Linked DNA regions of Homo sapiens: region 2 is linked to region 1. The links are contacts of gene promoters, found by promoter capture Hi-C in human tissues and cell types (Jung and others, 2019). All regions are on one chromosome and are shown on one strand. The core of a region is centred on a gene start or on the middle of the fragment in contact, and the rest is flanking DNA. Distances in the headings are between cores, read along the strand shown. Region 1 holds the start of CCDC28A (coiled-coil domain containing 28A). Region 2 overlaps PERP (p53 apoptosis effector related to PMP22).

The links. Contacts are between HindIII fragments. The study calls those that stand out against the background at their distance.
Region 2: a fragment that was not itself captured here is called in contact with the fragment with the promoter of CCDC28A in region 1 in 1 of the 25 tissues and cell types used here (dorsolateral prefrontal cortex).

What each region holds. Positions count from the first base shown.
Region 1 is chr6:138,772,487-138,775,186 of GRCh38, reverse strand. It overlaps CCDC28A (coiled-coil domain containing 28A), which reads right to left and starts at 1,418. Exons shown (of 6, transcript NM_015439.3): 1 at 1,285-1,418. CCDC28A-AS1 (CCDC28A antisense RNA 1) reads left to right here and starts at 1,484. Exons shown (of 3, transcript NR_161205.1): 1 at 1,484-1,672. RefSeq lists enhancers at 1,106-1,165, 1,526-1,585, 1,606-1,655, 1,019-1,692, 1,693-2,367. The HindIII fragment of the contact is 9,932 bases long and covers 1-2,700 here.
Region 2 is chr6:138,089,626-138,092,325 of GRCh38, reverse strand. It overlaps PERP (p53 apoptosis effector related to PMP22), which reads left to right. Exons shown (of 3, transcript NM_022121.5): 3 at 58-2,700. The coding sequence ends at 284. Among named protein-coding and RNA genes, the nearest start is that of PERP, 16 kb to the left of the region's middle. The HindIII fragment of the contact is 4,944 bases long and covers 1-2,700 here.

The DNA of each region.
Region 1 (2,700 bases), core at 169-2,668:
CGGGCGGATCACGAGGTCAGGAGATCGAGACCATCCTGGCTAACACGGTGAAACCCCGTCTCTACTAAAAATACAAAAAATTAGCCGGGAGTGGTGGCGGGCGCCTGTAGTCCCAGCTACTCAGGAGGCTGAGGCAGGACAATGGCATGAACCCGGGAGGCGGAGCTTGCCCTGAGCCGAGATGGTGCCACTGCGACAGAGCGAGACTCCGTCTCAAAAACAAAACAAAACAAAACAAAACAAAACAAAAAAACCCCTTCCATACTTTATTTGTGCATAGTGTTAAATTTTTCTTAACTTCATTATTTCATATATCATAAGATGAATTTATATGGCTATCTCTACCTCATCAGGTTGTAAATTGCCTTCTAGAAACATTAGGCCGTTTTTGGCATGCTGTGTTTAATTTAGGCATGCCATGACCATTCAAAAAGATTCAAACCCATTGCTGTCGCTTAAAATAATTATTTGATGAATTCAATAAATTTTTCTTTTTCCTTTTGCCTGGACTTAGTGCCACTGGCACTGGAATTTAAACCACTGAGCTTAAATTGGCTGACGCTAGACAATTACAACTGGAGCTACAATACTGCCAAAGAAGAGGCTTTCTGGGAAAGGCTCCAATGCCCAGTCTCTAATCCCAGATACCACTGGGTGTCAATCCACTTAAACCTTGGCTAACAATTTTTCTTTTAAGAAGCATTTTTTGTAACAGAACAATAATTCTGGTGTTGTTTCAACATGCAACACAAATTAAATGAGAGTTTGAAAGATGACTGAATAGAGACGATTAGTTCTCTGAAGAGGCAAGGATCTGTAAAAATGTATGATACGCATAAACACGCTGGCCTGAAATTTAACGATGCTAATACACACTTGGTGGTACAAGAAAAAAAAATCTAGGAAGTAAAGCAATGCAAATAAACCAGTGGTGGTCTAAACCACAATATTCTGCGGAGCCAGCACTCGCGATTTCCTCGTTTTTGGAAAATTACATCTGTCACAAGAGCACTGAAACCCTTCCTGTATATCAAACAGCAAAGAATGTTTTAGAGAAGGCATAATAAGTAAACTGCTCATAGTTACTTATTCACACAGTGGTTTTAAGTGCCAGGTCTTGCCTCCAAGCAGTACCACTGGGCATCCCTCTTGACATCACCTCATTCCCCTTCCCCAATCTACCGAAGCGATGACCCTTCACCGCCCAGTACCCAGCAGTGACCAGAGTGGTGGGAAGGGCCTAAAGGGGCAGGTTGCGGAGGTTCCTTTGCTTCCACTACATACCTGAAGAAGAAGGGTATTGGGGCCCCCTTCCGCAACCCGCAAAGACCCGACAGCCTCAGAAGCCACCGCCGCAGCCACAAGCAGAGCCCCGGTCACATCCCGGGACCCGCTCCTCCGCAGCTCCGTTTGTTTACGGAAGTGACGTAAGAGGTACAGCCTCCATGCCCCAAGCGGAAGCCCCGCCTTTTCCTGCTCCCCCAGTGTCGCTCTTGGCTCCGCCCTCGGCATTTCATTGCTTCCCCTGTCCTTCCTTTAGCTGTAACTCCGGCGGGCGTGTTGGGTGTGTCGTTTTAGGCTCTGTGACCCAGGAGCAAGACGCAATAAGCGGGTGCAGTGGAGGTAGAAACGGGAAATGCAGTACCCTTTCCGGAAGCTACTCCGCCCCTCGGTGAGTGTTAGATTCCCCCCCCGAACTACAATTCCCAGAATGCTGTTCGAGCATGCCCGAAGGCGGAACCAGAGTGTCGCCATGCAACTGTTCCTTGGTTGTTTCCGATTGGTTGCCCGGACTTCTCGCGGCTAAACTAATTTTGGCTCCAAGGCGGCGTGAAGAGTGTGATTCTGTTCAGCGACCGTGATTCTGTTCAGCGACCATGATGTTGAGCCCCTAATTGAGAGTCTGTTACCACTATTAATAGCTACTCTGTTCGGGCCCTACACATAACGGTGTATCTAAACCTCTCTACAATTTTATGGGTAGGTGTTATACTCTCTGTTTTACAAATGGGGAATTTGAGGCTCAGAAAGGCTAATTGATGCAGGTGTCTCTCTGTCGTCAAAGATAGTTCTACTTCCACTATACTTAAAGCCTCTGGAGAAGGAATTGCAGGCTGAGAGAAAGAGATCTATCTTAAATGAGGGAAGAAATGCACGTTTCATTGCCTGGTCTGGGTAGCCTTCCCGGTGTTGGAGTGGGAGGTGGGAAGGTTTTAGATTCACAGGTCCTTAGATTGAAGGGACTCTGGAGGAACACCACATAGCACCCCCCGCATTAGCTAATGGGGAAACCATATCTAGAGATTGTATCCATGCCAGAAAAGGCAGAGCAAAGACAACCCCAGTCTCTTGGCTTCTAGGATAGGATGTTCTTCCGCCACCCGCCATTTAAAAAAAAAAAACAAAACTATTGAAATGTTAAAAAAAAAAAGCACAGAATAAACAACGCACCCACTATCCAGAACGAACAGATTTATGAATGAAAGAAATGGAGCATTACAGATAAAGAAGGTGTTCCCTATTCTCAGTCCCATTCTACTACCACCCTCAGAGAGGCAACCAGGATCATGAATTTGATATGTATCTTGCCAATCTAGGTTTCTATATTTAAACTATTACTATGTATTATAAACAATATGTAGAATGGTTTGGGGCATTTGAAGTTTTACATGAATGCTATTATATTTTGTGTATTGATCT
Region 2 (2,700 bases), core at 41-2,540, 680 kb after region 1:
ATTTATTCCTTCATGCATGTATGCATTCATACCCTGGGATTTTTTTCTTCCCTTTAGCTGTGTTCCAGATCATCTCCCTGGTAATTTACCCCGTGAAGTACACCCAGACCTTCACCCTTCATGCCAACCCTGCTGTCACTTACATCTATAACTGGGCCTACGGCTTTGGGTGGGCAGCCACGATTATCCTGATTGGCTGTGCCTTCTTCTTCTGCTGCCTCCCCAACTACGAAGATGACCTTCTGGGCAATGCCAAGCCCAGGTACTTCTACACATCTGCCTAACTTGGGAATGAATGTGGGAGAAAATCGCTGCTGCTGAGATGGACTCCAGAAGAAGAAACTGTTTCTCCAGGCGACTTTGAACCCATTTTTTGGCAGTGTTCATATTATTAAACTAGTCAAAAATGCTAAAATAATTTGGGAGAAAATATTTTTTAAGTAGTGTTATAGTTTCATGTTTATCTTTTATTATGTTTTGTGAAGTTGTGTCTTTTCACTAATTACCTATACTATGCCAATATTTCCTTATATCTATCCATAACATTTATACTACATTTGTAAGAGAATATGCACGTGAAACTTAACACTTTATAAGGTAAAAATGAGGTTTCCAAGATTTAATAATCTGATCAAGTTCTTGTTATTTCCAAATAGAATGGACTCGGTCTGTTAAGGGCTAAGGAGAAGAGGAAGATAAGGTTAAAAGTTGTTAATGACCAAACATTCTAAAAGAAATGCAAAAAAAAAGTTTATTTTCAAGCCTTCGAACTATTTAAGGAAAGCAAAATCATTTCCTAAATGCATATCATTTGTGAGAATTTCTCATTAATATCCTGAATCATTCATTTTAGCTAAGGCTTCATGTTGACTCGATATGTCATCTAGGAAAGTACTATTTCATGGTCCAAACCTGTTGCCATAGTTGGTAAGGCTTTCCTTTAAGTGTGAAATATTTAGATGAAATTTTCTCTTTTAAAGTTCTTTATAGGGTTAGGGTGTGGGAAAATGCTATATTAATAAATCTGTAGTGTTTTGTGTTTATATGTTCAGAACCAGAGTAGACTGGATTGAAAGATGGACTGGGTCTAATTTATCATGACTGATAGATCTGGTTAAGTTGTGTAGTAAAGCATTAGGAGGGTCATTCTTGTCACAAAAGTGCCACTAAAACAGCCTCAGGAGAATAAATGACTTGCTTTTCTAAATCTCAGGTTTATCTGGGCTCTATCATATAGACAGGCTTCTGATAGTTTGCAACTGTAAGCAGAAACCTACATATAGTTAAAATCCTGGTCTTTCTTGGTAAACAGATTTTAAATGTCTGATATAAAACATGCCACAGGAGAATTCGGGGATTTGAGTTTCTCTGAATAGCATATATATGATGCATCGGATAGGTCATTATGATTTTTTACCATTTCGACTTACATAATGAAAACCAATTCATTTTAAATATCAGATTATTATTTTGTAAGTTGTGGAAAAAGCTAATTGTAGTTTTCATTATGAAGTTTTCCCAATAAACCAGGTATTCTAAACTTGTTTCCAGTTTGTAGTTTTTCCATTTTTCAAATCTGGGGAAAGGAATTAAAAAAAAAATGGGTAATAAGAACATGGGATATAATGAAAAGTGGTTTTTGTTTGTTTTTTTGTTTGAAGTTTTAAGGGCCTTGCTCATTTTAGGTGTCCAAAACCAATTTTTGAGTGGAGATTAATGAATTCTAATAGTCTATTCCCTGAACTTTTCCTCAATGAACAATACCCTAGACACACATTAAACAATTTCTCTGCAGTGCTATCAACCAGAGGAAAATGGACTAAGAGATTTCTGGCAGGTTCAGACACCCGGGGGACATGTGTGCAGTGTAGCTGAAGCCTCCTCCTTGTGCTGGGGTCCCCTTCCATTCAGGTGGTGGGGTAGCAGTCTCTCTATTTTCCCCTTGCCCTCCTTCCCATTTTATCATTTGTTATTTTTTTTCCCACCATAAGTCATATGTTACTTCCACTATGGTGTATGTCATTGTGAGGATGGGTGCAGAGAGGCTGGGTGGGAGAACGGAAATATATCTCCCTAGGGCTACTGTTGGCCAGCTAGTCCTTGGCAGTGAATTTTTCTATGCTTTTCAAAATGCGAGGTGAATGTTTCTCATAGAGAAATGTAATCTGGGTGATTATACCAAAATTGAAAAGAAAAACCCACACAACTATGCCGTGGCTGGTGGAGAATTTGAAGTGGTCATTAAAAATGTTAAAAATCCCATCTTTTAAAGTGATACCACAGCTCATTCAAGAAGATACTGGATATCTAGAGATTAAGAAACGTGGTCTCCTGTTAAACATGAAAATGACTCCGTTTATAAGCTTCTCTACCACATGCACTTGTCTTTGCATGATTTCCCATCCAGCCTTCTTCCCCTCCTCAATCACACAATACCTTAACGGCGCACATTTAGGAAAAATGCAACCTCCTGGGACCAACGAGCCTGATATAATAGAACCATGTCAACCTAAAGTATTTATGACAAAGATAAACTCTTATTTTGCAGAAATGGTCTGCTTCCTTCAGCCTTGTTCTAGTATAGAGATCTGCCATTCCTTGTTGATCCAGATTCACCAAGACAGATACCTTTATGTCATAACAGAAGGGAAGTTCCAGAGGATTCTGGAGAGTAATGAAGAATTGGGCTGAGAAACCACC